Regions from separate parts of the Homo sapiens genome. Here all the other regions are linked to region 1. The links are contacts of gene promoters, found by promoter capture Hi-C in blood cells and fetal thymus (Javierre and others, 2016). All regions are on one chromosome and are shown on one strand. Each heading gives the region's core, a stretch centred on a gene start or on the middle of the fragment in contact. The rest is flanking DNA. Distances are from core to core; before and after follow the strand shown. Region 1 holds the start of PIGY (phosphatidylinositol glycan anchor biosynthesis class Y). Region 2 has its middle 6.4 kb from the start of PKD2. Region 3 overlaps DMP1-AS1 (DMP1 and DSPP antisense RNA 1).

Region 1 (4,833 bases), core at 241-2,740:
ATTTTTTTTCATACTAGTCAGAAAAGATCCCCCTCTCTTATCCAAATATTCCTTCATTACTTTGGTCAACCCCCAAACCATCCCTGTTAATTTACTACTGGAATAAACACTAGAGAAAAATCAACTTCTTCATTTTAGAATAAATGCTAAGTAGAGAAACTTAACTAATCCATTAGAAGGAAATCACTGGAAAAGGTGAGAGGGCAGAAATGAAGAAACTTTCGAAAGCACTAAGTCTGCAGTGAGCTAGTTATAAACGTAAATCAAATGATAATTTCAAGGTTCGAGAAAATTGAATAATATGTTTATTACGGGAAAAAGAAATACGAAAAATTGCTAGCAATCTACCATTCAAAGATAACCACTGATAACATTTTGGTGTTTATGCGATTTGTAATACTAGCGTTAGTGTTGTCAATATTCAATTTTGGTAGCTTGGAAACTGTAGAGCTGTCTTCCCAAAAACTAGTTAAAGAGGCTTCTACGAAACCTGCTAGGCCACAACTAAGAGCCACTGGGCAGCAAACACAGCTGAATTGCTTAAGATTGTCAGGCACCAGTTGTACAAGACACTTTCACAAGAATCTGGAGGGTACAACAATACTTTTCATTATCTTGGCTTAAAAACCGGAAGGCTTCGGACTTGTCCTGAATCGCAGTGGTTCATAAACCTGGTGGTACATTAGAAATCATTTAGGGACCGTTTAAGAACACAGATAAGCTGGGCGTGGGGGCGGCGCCTGTCTCTCGACTCCTGAGGAGGCTGAGGCGGGAGTTCTAGGCCAGTCTGGGCAACGTAGGGGGCACCCTGTCTCTTAAAAGGAAAAAAAAAAAGGAAAAGAAAATACAAATGTTCAGGTCCCATCCCGCGAGCATTCCAAGTCTGCCCGTCTTGGGGGCTGTCGGGGAATCGGCATTTTTAAAACGGTCCCCGGGTGATTGCAATGCGCAGCCGGTCGCGAACCCTAAAACGCTTCGAGCCATTCCCGCAGGCTGGCGTTGCGTTCTGGGAGATGTGGGACGCAGCTCCCCTGGCCTCCGGTCTCCCCCGTCCTGCCCGCTGTGCGCCCGGCGAGGACAGAGTCCAGAATGTGGCAGCGGAGAGTACCTGACCGACCTACAAGGCCCCAGTGGCTGCAAGAGGCCGCGGTCCACCGCTCCCTTTCCGCCCACCGGGAGGCTGCAAAGGAAGGGCCAAGGCCAGCGAGTTACCTGAGCGGCTTCTTGGAGAGCGGGCACACCAGGAACTCCAGCAGCGCCGGATCGAAGTCGCGGGGCGGCTCCTCAGTCTTCTTGCCCCGGTCGGCCAAAGGCCGCGACCCCGACGCGTGCAGGCACCTACGGGCGACCGCGGACGGCGGCGCGCGCGTTCCCCGCAGCGCTGAGGCGAGCCTGCAGCGTGCTCCACTCAGCATGGTCTGGCAGCCGGAGACCAGGCCTCACCGCAGCCTCGCCACCCGTGGCCGAGCTCCCGGCTTCCCGTTCGTCCAGGCCAGCCGGGCAGGCCCCGCCCCCTGGTCCTCCAGGAAACGCTGCCGAGGAGTAGGCGGGGCGGGCGCTTTGGTTCCGAGGGTGCTTCTGCTCCGACTGCTTTTCCCACGGGCGTCATCTATAGTCCGGAGGACAGCCCCAGGGCAGAGGCCTCTGGTGAGTGCCCCGCCGCCTTACCAGACTACAAACTAAACCAGTGTTTAAGTCAAGGTGTCTGGGTTTTCACCGGGGCCTGTCCAAGGATGCTAGGAAGCCAGTGGCCAGGCCTCAGAGTTGTAGGGAGTTAGGCTTGGACCTACGTGGTTACCTCCAAGTGAAGTTTCAAACACACTGTTATGTATTGTACCGAATGTATTGTCATGGATGTATTGAAAGCGCTCATTTGTTTCATGTACATCTTTACTATACCATTAGTTTCTGTAACCTTGTTTGGCTTTTTTCTCTCTCATTAAAAAAAGTGAGAACCTGGAAGGAAGGGCCTAGGCCTCTGACCCTCCAAAATATATAAATTCTTCCTGCCTGAGACCCAGTCATTGTGAAGTATTTGCGTAATAAAGCACAGCTAATTTACTTCTATAAATGAGCTTGGAGGCCGCAAGGGGCCTAAATAGCTGTGTAACAGGCAGATGTGATCTGCCTGTTAAAGATCCATTCAATGAGTGGGTGATCCATTCAGTGAATTTGTATCCCAGGTTTGCTTCCCACTCTCCAAGAAAGTGACCATGTTAGATCTCTTTCTTACAGTGTAGTAGATGGGAACTTGGGCTCTGGGGCCTGACAGCTTGGTTCCCTGTCCACAATTAGTAGCTGGATGACTTTGGCAAATGACTTAACTGCTCATTTTCCTTATCTGTATAAGACTAATAATTGTACCTACCTTGTAGGTAGGGCATAAATGTGATTGTGCATTCGAAGAACATTTAGAAAAGTGCCTGGCACAAATTAATGCTCCATTAATGTTGTCTATTTTTATTTTTAGTTCATCTAGTTTTTCCATGTCCGAAGACTCAAAGATTCTCATTAGTCATCCATTTTTTCCCTCCGTTCTGCTGAATATCAACCTGAACTTTTTTTTTGCATCACTGGGCATTATCATTTCACACTTTGAGTTCCTGGAGCTGGAAGTACAGAATCCAAAAATATGTTTATATTTTCAAATTTCTCTTCCACTCCAATGTAAAAATAAACTGACAAATGTTTATATGTTCATCCTAATTTTTTGTTTGTTTTTTGGGCCATCCTGTTTTTTTTAAAAAAAACAGTTTATTTTTTGATGTTCTTTGTTCACTAATGCTCAGAAGATTTTCTAAGGTTAATGTAGTTTATAGGATACCAAAAAGGAAACACTTCTACTGGATAGATATTTAAGAGATAATGAAAGTCTCTGGTTGCCTCACCTTCCTTCCCTCACAAAGCAATCTTTCACAGTCATAACTTTCCGTTATTAGAGTTACTAACGGACTAGAGAATAGGGCAGTTATCGGGACATACCCTCAAGGGAAACTACTGTAAAGTTCCTATGTCACCTTCACACTATTTCCGACTAGGGCAGTAGCAGGAATTAATTTTTCAGTTGAAGTCAGTTGATACTTTGGGCTCAAGGGAAGGGGTGAGCTGTAGGAAAGATAAGTTTCTGCTTAAGGAGAAACAGCGCTTGACTTCTGCAAGCGCTGAGTGGGCCCAACCCTTGGCGCTTGTTGGGTAGGGGAAGGCACCCATGCTTAAGCCTCAGCTAGCTTGGCTGACAGATCTCTATCAACTGGGTTTTCTAACCAGTTATAAATAAATTAGTTTCAGTTTGCCTCCACATAGAGGGTTTGAGGCAGTTCAGTTTACTTTATTTAGGGGAAGAATAGAGAGTAACAGCAAAGTATTGAAAACATCCTCAAATTTATAACACCAGAAATCAACAACCAATATTTAAGGAACATATGAATGTATGACTATCACCATGTGTGTATTAAGTTGCAACATATCAAAGCAATATGTCCCTAAATAGCCCTTAGTAATGAAGAAATACAATTCATTTCTGCCTGTAGTATACTAAGCTAAATGTAGATGATAGGATAGGATCATGGGACTGGAACTGGTCTTTTAAAAGTTAGTCCCTTTTCACTATTCACATGACTGACCTTTCGTGTCACATAGGCCTGTGCACAATAACCTGATGGTTTCTGGGCTCAGATACAATATAGCTGTGTGATCTTGGAGAAGCTACTTAAGTTCTCACCCTCAACCTTCTCACTTGTGAAATACAATAATAATAGTATGTAACTTACAGTGTTTGAACAGACTAAATAAAACAATTCAAGTAAAACAGCACAGGGGCTAACACATTTAAAGAATGTTTAGCAATAAAATTATTTATTATGGTGAAACTAGTAAACATTCTGATGGAAAGGGAAAGCACAAGGTACTTCTGGGACACTCTTTTTAACTGAAATGGAATTTTTCTAATTTCCAATATGGATACTATTGAAACACAATTCTTGGATTATCACACACATGAAGTTAGAAATCTCTAGGCAGAAGAGGGGCTGGACTATGTATTTTAACAGAGCCTGTCAATTCCAAATTTGGGGGCATTGAAATTTGTGAACCTGCAATCCAAAGAAATGAGTCAAAATAAATTTTCCACTAGATGGCATCATTTAGTATTTGAACTAACATTTATCTCTGCTTGATCTTTTCTTTCTGTGATTACAAAGACTTACTTTCATTTTGCCAATTGTTTCTTAGTTTGACAACACTTATTTTTTATTTTTATTTTATTTTCTTGAGACAGATTCTCTCTGTGTCATCCAGGCTGGAGTACAGTGGTGCAGTCGTGACTCACTGCAGCCTTGACCTCCCAGACTCAAGCAATCCTGGCATGTCAGCCTCCAGGTAGCTGGGAATACAGGTGCATGCCACCACACCCAGCTAATTTTTGTATTTTTTGTAGAGATGGTGTTTCATGTTGCCCAGGCTGGTCTGGAACTCCTGAGCTCAAGCAGTCCACCCACCTTGGCCTCCCAAAGTGCTAGGATTACAGGCATAAGCCACTGTGCCCAGCCCAACATTTATTTTAAAAACAAAAATCATAAAAGTCCTATTAATAAATTTTAATGATGAGTTTATTAAAATCAAGTTTCCAATAGATAAATGGACAAAATATTTGAAAAGAAAAATTCGCAAAAAAGAAAATACAGTTGGTCAATAAACATATTAAAAAATTATCCTCAATAGTAAAGTAGTAATGCTAGTTTCAAACATCAAAGGAGTTTTGAAATAACTCTAGACATGAATGTTACCAGCCTTGTTTTGGCCATCTGAAGGATAATCACAAATTCTGTCTGAAGG
Region 2 (5,089 bases), core at 1,441-3,940, 520 kb before region 1:
TTTATTTTTAATGGTTTGCTTTAATGTAACAGCGGTGTGTTAACTCAGTACAAACATTGAAGGTGATCAGAAAACTCATGAATTTTTATTATAGGAACTGTGGAATATTCTATATATATCTGAAACTTATAGTTACTTGTTTTAGGATATCCATAATAAAACTCTTTCATGTGGTTTTCTGGGTCATTGTTTTCAGGAATAAGCTTGGTGTATAATATTGAATGCTCTTAGAAGTTGGATCTGCATATTTTCTCTTTTATCTCTACAAATTAAACAATACTAGGAACTATCTTCTATAAAATATAAATTTAACAATATGTTAATGACTATCTATAAAGATAATATACTTTTAAAAAAGTACTGGTAGTGAACAATGAAAAATTAAAATATATAAAATAAGTTATATTTACTGTTGTACCACAAAATGAAAGTTTATAGACTTTGGCAAATGTAAAAGATATTTATTTTAAAAGGTGTTTGTTGGTAAAAAGTTTACATTTGCTAATATCCTTATCTTTAAGAAGAAAGGTCAAAGGCTACTGTATTAGTCCATTTTCACACTGCTATAAAGCTACTATCCAAGACTGGGTAATTTATAAAGGAAAAAGGTTTAATTGACTCACAGTTCTACATGGCTGGGGAGGCCTCAGGAAACTTACAATCATGGCGGAAGGAGAAGGGGAAGCAAGGACCTTCTTCACCTGGTGGCAGGAGAGAGAAGTGAGGATGCAGGAAAAACTGCCATTCATAAAACCATCAGATCTCATGAGAATTCACTCACTATCACGAGAACAGCATGGGGGAAACTGCCTTCATAATTCAATCACCTCCCTCCCTTGACATGTGGGGATTACAACTGGAGATAAGATTTGAGTGGAGACACAGAGCTAAACTATATCAGCTACTGAAAAAAGTTGATAAATTAAAAAAAAATTAAAAATAAAAATAAAAAAAAAAGTAGACAAGGCTTAATTTTGTTGATGAAACCTATGACAGACTTCTAGACCCACCTTACTTTCAAATTCTTGGGCACTTAAAATAATTACTTAAGTAATATAAAGTGTACAGAAGCCAACAGAGAATATGTTTCTTTGCCTTAGTCCTCCAGTCCTACCCTATGTATAACGTGCCCCCAGCATATACCCTTTGTATACATAGGACTGTTGTCTTACCACAGAAACTAAGAACTAGAATTGTTGGATCAAATGGAATGCACTTTTTAAATAGTAATATATGCTGCCCAACTATCTTCCGAAAAGCCTTCACTACATTATTATAATCTCACCAAAAGCACATAGATGAGAATACCTATTGCCTATATTTATTAACACTGAATGTTATTGATCTATTGAATAAAAAGTTATCTTAATATAAAATTTCAAAAAAAAAAAAAAAATTGAAGATAAGCCACAGACTGAAAGAAAATATTTGCAAAAGACCTATCTGATAAAGGATTGTGATTCAAAATATACAAAGAACCCTTAAAGTTCAACAAGAAAATAAGCCACCCGATTGAAAAATAGGCCCAAAAGACTTACCAGGCAGGGTAGATACCATGACCACAAGGGTAGTTTTCCCTAGGGCAAGGCTTCTCTATTCCACTGAAGACTTGCTGATCCCTGTGATTTCTCCAAATGTGGGAAACTCAACTGCGTAATTTGTGGTAGCAGCATACTGCATTCATGCTTTTCCCCAGTAAATAAAAGGAAAAAATGAGCCAACAACCTGAACAGACACCTTACCAAAGAAGATATACAGATGGCAACTGAGCATATGAAAAGATGCTCCACATATATGTCAATAAGGAATTGCAAATTAAAACAACGAGATCCAATTGCCCGCCCATTTGAATGGCCAAAATCCAAAACACTGATAATGCTACTGCTGTTGAGGATGTGGAAAAAGAACTCTTATTTATTGCTGATGGGAATGCTGTAAATAATATTACAAAGACATGTGTACCTGTATATTCATTGCAGCACTATTCATAATAGCAAAGACATAGAGTCAATCTAGGTGCCCATCAATGATGGATTGGATTTTTTAAAACATGGTACTATACACTATGAAATACTATGAAGCTATGAAAAAGAATAAAATCATGTCCTGTGCAGCAACATGGATGCAGCTGGAGGCCATTAACCTAAACAAATTAACATAGTAACTGAAAGCCAAATACCACATGTTCTCACTTATAAGTGGGAGCTAACCTTTGGGTGCCCATGGATAAAGATGGCAACAATAGACAGTGGGGAATACAAGAGGAGGGAGGGAGGGAAAGGGGCAAGGGTAAAGTTGAAATAATTTTTTTAATTTTTTAAAAGGATATTTTTTGGCTCATGGAGTCCAGGGGTGGATCTAGCTTCAATTAGTTCTAACTCAGGGGTTCAAATGATGTCCTGAGAACCTAGTCTTTCTCTGTCTCTTTGATCTACTCTCTTAAAATACAGATTCCTAGGACCTAGCTGAGACATAATGAATCAGAATCCCTAGAAGTTAGACTCCAGAATCTTTATTTAAAATAAAACAAAACAAAAAAAACTTCCCAGAAGAATGTCATAAAGCTCTTATTGGTTAAATGTTTTATCCATGTATAGCAAGCTAGTTACAAGCTTCTTGCAGGCATAAACAACTTCTTTAGCATCCTAATCATATCTAAGATTGTACGAAGGGGACATAAAACAGGTACTCTGCAAAGTCTGGTAGATCTGGGAATGCTGGAAGCCTCATTCATGTTGGCATCAAAAGGTATTTGAAAAAAAATTGTGATAAGCTTTGGAAAAATCTGGGCTAGTGAAAATTGGATTTAAAGTTTTTTTAAAATACAACTATACCCAAACAGTACTAGTGAATAAACTAGAGTTGATGAAGAGAAGAGCTGCACACAGTATTTCAAAGAACTCTGTTCTTGGCCCCAATTTGTTCAAAATTCTTTTGAACTTGGATAAAAATATAGATAATAAATATCATAATCTGCATCTGACAAAACCAGGAGATGGCACACAATAAAAATGTATTTCATAATGTTCTTGAATAGCATGGCCACCCAAACATTAGTTCAATTTTAGTATTCTTCCAGTATCCACATTATAAATATTTTTTGTATCTCCATTGTTGGCGCCATTTTTCCCCTGAGCATCAACATTTTGGCTGCCAGCTTGTCTGGACTTACATCTTTAAAACTCTAAATCTGGTGGGAAGAAAAGCTTTTCTTTTCCAACAACTGGAAAAAAATTTCTGGCCTAATTTTTTTTTTTAACACAACAGGATAACATACTTGTGAAATACCATTCACAGGGGCCAAGGAGACGTGATGCTGATTGGGCAAGCCTGAGCTCCACAATCACCACTTGGGAGCTAGCAGTGGTGTCTGCCACACCTGAGACACATATAGGCTAAGAATGGCAGCAGGGGTGGGTAGGTGGGGGTGTCCCCAAGAAAACTTGCACTAGAAAACAGACTGGCTGCTGAGCTGCTAATAAGCCAGGGTCCCTGCTCTCCAGGAGCTTATGTGCCACTCACGAAGACGTCTATGTGAACAGATATTTTCAGTATAAGGTGGCAAATGTTGGAATAAAGGTTTACAGGGTAGAGAGGCATGTCAATTCATGCTGGGGGCCAAGATTGTGTCTATGGAAGGTTCCAGGGAGAGATGAAGTCTGAGTCTAGAAAAATTCCTAAGTTTTTATGGGTAGAGAAGTTGAGAATGATCTATGGATGTTTCCAGGCAGTTTAACTATAAGATTTGATCTCATTGAAGGTAGGAATCATGTCTTATCTTTGTCACTCTGGAATGCAACACAGTGACTGGCATGTAGCGGACACTCAATACATGTTTTATAAACTTATTAATATTCCTTCATTAGTCCTCAACAAAAATTCTGTGGGGGATTTATAAGATGGGTATTTAACCTCATTATCCAGAGAAGGAAATTGAGATAGAGAGATTAGGTCATCAAGATCACGGTGCCAGCCAATTATGGTGCCAAGATAACCCCACAGAGACAGGGATGTATGCAGGCCAATCCAAACCAAATCTATCATGAAGAAGGCCACAAATCCTAGCTTTATGTTATTAAAGCAGCAAAATGACAAACAAAGTAAAGTCAAAGTCTTACTGTGGTTAGCAGTTCTTCTCATAAAGCCCAAAACACCAGATTTTCTTCTAATGATTTCAGATGTCAAGTGGTAAAAATTGATTTTACAATGTTCTTGAGTAAATAAGTACTGGGGAAAAAAATGAGGAGGAAACATGTTTGTTTGGGTAAATTGCTAAGCAACACCACACATGCCAGAAACTCCTTTTGGATTTCCTCTCGAGGTGGAGACCGCGAAACCAACGGGTACTTCACTTTGTGTCTGTTTCATCAGTTCACACTGGAAAATAAAAGCCAAACAGGCAATTCTAATAATACAAGAGTCAGAGGTGTGGAGGCCACTAATATTAAATTAGACTGAACTGTTTAAGGTTGCCTTTTAAAATGGCTCCTTCCAGCGTCCACGGTGGCACTAAGACTGAGGTGAGATTTGTGCAGCGTGTCCAGGAAGATCTAGCACACTGATGAAAAAAAAAACAAACAGCAGCCAGGCCATGTTATCTATCCCACTCGGTATTTCCAGATGCTACAGATGATGGAAATTTGTAATGTGACAACAGGATTGTGGAAATGAGATGAAAAAAACTTTGTGCACGTCACTTATTTAATAATGGAAAATTTCTTATTAGAAGTAAGGTCTTCAGATGGGTATTAAAGGAAGGAATTCCGTGGGTAGGGAGAGAAATTTACAGCCTCAGGGCCTGCTTGAGCAAAAGCTGGGCACTCTAAAGGGGAGAAACAAATTAACATAAAAGCACAAAAGGGAACCTTAGTAAGCCAGAAGGAATGAATAAGTATTTGAACAGGAAATATATTAGATGGCTGGTGTTGGGTTTATGAAAATTAAGATTGAAATTAATATTGAAACTCCAAAATGTAAGATTTAGGGTGCAATGGACCAAATGCTATTTAAGTGGTATTACACAAAAATTGCTGCGAATTTTTAATGATTACATTTCTTGCAATAATTTGTAAAGAAAATTTTGGGTAAG
Region 3 (4,739 bases), core at 393-2,892, 840 kb before region 1:
GAGGATGGATACAAATAGGGAACGACAGGAAGCAGGGAGAACAATTAGGAGATTCCCGCAGTGTTTTAGTTAGAGCTATTTAAATTACTGAAATTTAAAAAGGAGTTCATTATAAAGAATTGGAATGCAGCAGGCCCGAGGAATAATATCAACAGGAAAGGTGACCACTATCAGACCTCTGCCTCTAATTTCTGTCTTTGCTCTTATCTATGTATTTGTTTCCTTCTCTCTCTTGAAGACAGGCACTTTCTCTCTCTCTTTCTATTTTTTTAGACGGAGTTTCGCTCTTGTTGCCCAGGCTGGAGTGCAGTGGCACAATCTCGGCTCACTCCCACCCCACCTCCCGGGTTCAAACGATTCTCCTGCCTCAGCCTCTTGAGTAGCTGGAATTACAGGCATGTGCCACCACATCTGGCTAATTTTTCTGAATTTTTAGTAGAGACGGGGTTTCTCCATGTTGATCAGGCTGGTCTCGAACTCCCAACCTCAAGTGATCTGCCTGCCTCGGCCTCCCAAAGTGCTGGGATTACAGGCATGAGCCACTGCACTCGGCCTCTTTTTTTGGTACACACGGGGAGAATATGACCATCAACCCAGATTCTACATTTTCCATCATCACAGAAACGGATTATTTTGTTAGTCTTAGGGAAGGATTTTGATTAGCCTAATTCGGACTGATCATTTGTGACCAGTGGAATACGATCAAGTTGTTCAAAATGGTTGTGTCCTAACCATGCAGATGGGAGAAGCAGGTCAGTTCCTGGAAGATGAGGCTGGGATTGCAAAGACTTGACAATGTGCCCCGTACATATTGAGGCCTAGATGTGAAGTAATGCTGTACTGTGCCACGGTGATGTTGAAGGAACAATAAAAAGAGGACATACATAGGAGACATTTGGGGGAAAGAATTTGTACAACATGGAGAATGATTAGATAAAAGGTGAAAGAAAGCATCAAAGAACTCCAAATACTATAAATCAAAACAAGAAAAGGGAAAAGGTGGAACCATGAGGGGATGACATGAATGCAATCGAGTGATTTGAAGATGCAGATGGTTTTGAACTGGCTTAGAACGTCCACCAGGATTTTTGTGGCAGATCGTAATATAGGTCAAGAAGGATTTAAATTTAGTTCTTATATTCTCAAATTAATAACTCAATGAATTGCTTTAAGTTTTGAAAATTTACTTTCATAAGAGTCAGATCTGAACTGGCTTCTCTATTTCGGCAGAAGCACCATCATGAATCTCAGAACCTTTAAAAAGACACCCAAGAGTAGCAATTTTCTTTCTGAGAGTACGGATTCTATTTCTGACATGTAATTTTCCTTATACCCAACACCAAAAATGGGGACTTGAATCATAAACATATTTAACACTCAGAGGAGACATTAGTAGGATCCTTTTAAATATTGAAAACATAATGAAATCAGGATCCCAGTCCAAATAATGTGCCTTTTCTTAAAAGGCAAAAACAGTGTGGGAGACTAAATCCAGGAGTTCTTGATTCAAGTCTAATTTGGGCTCCATTTAACTAGGACCTCTGTATTATTTTTATTTGATTAAAGAAATGTTATCCATATTACTCAGACTAGACAACCAATAAGAAATAGAAAAGGATTATAACTAGACGGAATGTATAGGTACACTACATGCTCTTTTTACTCTTCTAAAATCCAGAGGATTGATGATATTGTCACTGTTGCATTAAAACATCTGTGATTTGGGAGAACAAAGGCAAATTTTGACTAGCCTAATTTGGGTGGATCATCTGCGACCAGTGGAATGTGATCAAGTTGTTCAAAATGGATGTGTCCTAACCATGCAGATGGGAGAAGCAGGTTGGTTTCTGGGAGATAAAGCTGGGGCTGCACAGACCTGATATTGTGCCTGGTAATTATTGAGGCCTAGACATGAGGTAATGCTGTCCTGTGCCATGGAACCTAAAGAACTTAATCCAATGCCCTATCCCACTAGATAGGCACTGAGCTATCTTGGGCAGCTGACTTGCTTCTATATCACAATTTGCTATTTCACAGTCTAAAATCAGTATCTACACTGAGGAATCTTGGCTGATCTGTGGCAAAGGCTACTCATTTACCTATTCCTTAAACACTGAGTTTATTTAGTGCTCATTTAAAGCAAGTTTGGGGAGGGCTTGTCTCCTTCATGCCTCCACTCCTTTTGTTCAAAATCCTTTTCTTTTTCTCCTTCACTTTTTCATTCCTCTGGGTTGTCTTGTATCCTAGTCTGCTCCCATACAGGTGAAATTACTGACTTATATCCTGATCAATTTCCCCACTTTTCCTTTAAACTTCTCTTCCACCTCCTACTCAATTCTTGCCCATTCTATACAATGTATTTATTTTGTTATTGTCATGGTAAATACTCAGGGACAGGGAAAGTTTTAGTTATTTGAAGGGGACTGTGTACTTGAGAAACAGAAGTGTAAAATCTGTGAGTGTATTAGTCATCTGTTGCTGTGTAACAAATTATCCCAAAACTTAGTGGTTTACAAAAAAAAAATTTTATTATCTCACAGTTCCTATGGGTCAGGAACCTGGCCTTGGCTTAGCTGGGTCCCCTGCTTTAGGGCCTTTCATAGGCTGCAATCAAGGTGTCAACTGGGTCTACAGTCATCTCAGGTCTCAACCGGGGAAGCATCTGCTTCCAAGCTCACTCATATGGTTGTTAGTTGGATTCTGTTCCTCCCACCGAAGGCCACAGTTCCTTGCTGGCTGTTGGCTGGAGGCCACCCTCAATTCTTTGCCACATGGCCTCTCCATGGGGCAGCTCAGAACAAGGAAGTCAATTTCCACTGGAGGGAGAAAGCAAGAGAGTGAGCAAGACAAGTCATAGTCTTCCATAATCTAATCTCAGAAGTGACATCTCATCTTTTTGCTGTATTCTGTTCGTTGATAGCAAGTTTTTAGATCCAGCTTACACTTAAGAGGAGGGGATTACACAAAGCCATGACTATCAGGAAGTGAGGATCACGGGAGGCTATCTTTGAATTTTGCCCCACACCTAGCACATGCTATATAGTAAATAAAAGAAAGAATGTTACAATCCTAGTGGGGTATTTGAGAGATTATGTTCAGCTGCATTTTTTCCTATTTGCATACCTACGTTTGTGTGTGGCTATGTGTCTATGTTTGGGTGCTTAGAGAAGAGTAGTTTGTGTTCAGCCAGCAGGAGAGAGCAAATAACAACCATTCCAAATCATATGCCCTCTCATGAGTTTCCCTTATCACCTGAGCCCAGGATCTCCGCTCTTCTTCTTACATCTCTGCTCTTCTCCCAACTCTCAGGAAATGACTTTTTCTTCCATTTTGCAAAGAAAATAGAAACCAGTGAGCACAATCTCCCTGATCACTCAATGCTCACATCTACAAACATCTCCAACTCCCTCCATCTTTATCCTTACTGTGTCCTGATTTAAGGACTGCCTGTATTCTGTCCAGGCAGCACCATCTACCTGTGCACTGGGGCCCAAATTCTTCTACCTTCTCAGGGCCACAATTCATCATTATTTTTCTTTAAAAAGACAGGAAGTAAACATTTCTTCTGCCCTGAATAATCCTTTGGTTAGTATCTTCTCTCATTCCATCCCTTTACAACCAAGCTTTCTGAAGGAATCATTTGTTTTTTCTTTTTCTTTTTTCGTTTCCCTTTTTTTTTTTTCTTGAGAAAGGGTCTCACTCTGTTGCCCACGCTGAAGTGCAGTAGTGTGAACATAGCTCACTGTAACCTCGATATCCTGGGCTCAGGTGATCCTCCCACCTCAGTTTCCCAAATAGCTGGGACTACAGGCATGTGTCACCATGCCAGGCTAAATTTTTCGGGTTTTGTTTTTGTTTTTTGTTTTTTTTCTGTAGGGGTGGGGTTTCACTATATGGCCCAGGTTGATCTCGAACTACTGGGCTCAAGTGATCTGCCCACTTTGGCCTCCTCAAATGCTAGAATGACAGGCATAAGACACTGTGCCTGGCTTTTTTTTCAACTTCCATTCATTCTTCAACCCACTGCAATATGGTTTGTAGCCATCTCTCATCTGTAGCAATAACAACAACGCAGCTCCTTCTCCTGCACCCACTCCTCCACCAACTGATCTTCATTTATTTGCTCCTCTTTGCAACAAAACTCCTCAGTATTTCAAATGTCTCTTTTAAACTCATCTTTCTCAGTGGGTTGCCTCTACTGTTTCACTGAAATGCTGTTGTCAAAGTCCTCAATGACATTGTTAAATTCAATGGTCAATTCTCATTCCACAGCCTACTTGACTTAATGGCAGGATTTGGTGTGGTTGATCAGTAGCCTCCTCTTGCTGCATTTTCGTCACTTGATTTTGAGGATAACACATGCACTTGATTTTTCCTCTACCTCATTGGCCACTCTTTCAGTGACTTGTTTTCTCCATCTCTTAATATTGGAGGGCCCCAGGGTTCGGTCTTTAGTCCTCTTCTCTTCCATTTGATGAACTCAACCTGTCTTATGGCTTTAAATACCATGAAGCAAGCATAGACTCTATATTTGTGTACCAACTACCTATTCCACCAGGATATTTAACAGAATGTCAATCTTCCTATGTCCTAAACTGAACTCCTGATTTCTCCCCTATCCAGACTTGTTCTATCCATTATCTCCCCACCTCAGCCAATAACATCTGCATTGTTCCAGTTTCTCAGGCCAAAAATAGTGGCTCCTCTCTTCATCTCATACCCTGTTCTGATGTGAGCTA

What was found. The method cuts DNA at HindIII sites, captures the fragments that hold promoters and counts their contacts. A CHiCAGO score of 5 or more calls a contact.
Region 2: a fragment that was not itself captured here is called in contact with the fragment with the promoter of PIGY in region 1 in 2 of 17 cell types (naive B cells and total CD4 T cells); the score reaches 5.8 in naive B cells.
Region 3: a fragment that was not itself captured here is called in contact with the fragment with the promoter of PIGY in region 1 in 2 of 17 cell types (naive B cells and neutrophils); the score reaches 7.0 in naive B cells.

Annotation. Positions count from the first base shown.
Region 1 is chr4:88,522,286-88,527,118 of GRCh38, forward strand. PIGY (phosphatidylinositol glycan anchor biosynthesis class Y) reads right to left here and starts at 1,491. Exons shown (of 2, transcript NM_001042616.3): 1 at 1,213-1,491. PYURF (PIGY upstream open reading frame) reads right to left here and starts at 1,491. Exons shown (of 2, transcript NM_032906.5): 1 at 1,213-1,491. The coding sequence starts at 1,415. PIGY-DT (PIGY divergent transcript) reads left to right here and starts at 1,525. Exons shown (of 2, transcript NR_134663.1): 1 at 1,525-1,647; 2 at 2,480-2,706. It also overlaps a transcript of HERC3 not described here. RefSeq lists an enhancer at 789-848. The HindIII fragment of the contact is 19,176 bases long and covers 1-4,833 here.
Region 2 is chr4:87,998,707-88,003,795 of GRCh38, forward strand. It overlaps the pseudogene RNU1-36P. Among named protein-coding and RNA genes, the nearest start is that of PKD2, 6.4 kb to the right of the region's middle. The HindIII fragment of the contact is 161 bases long and covers 2,611-2,771 here.
Region 3 is chr4:87,680,489-87,685,227 of GRCh38, forward strand. The region is part of intron 2 of DMP1-AS1 (DMP1 and DSPP antisense RNA 1); the gene reads right to left. Among named protein-coding and RNA genes, the nearest start is that of DMP1, 33 kb to the left of the region's middle. RefSeq lists an enhancer at 193-1,136. The HindIII fragment of the contact is 3,957 bases long and covers 1-3,621 here.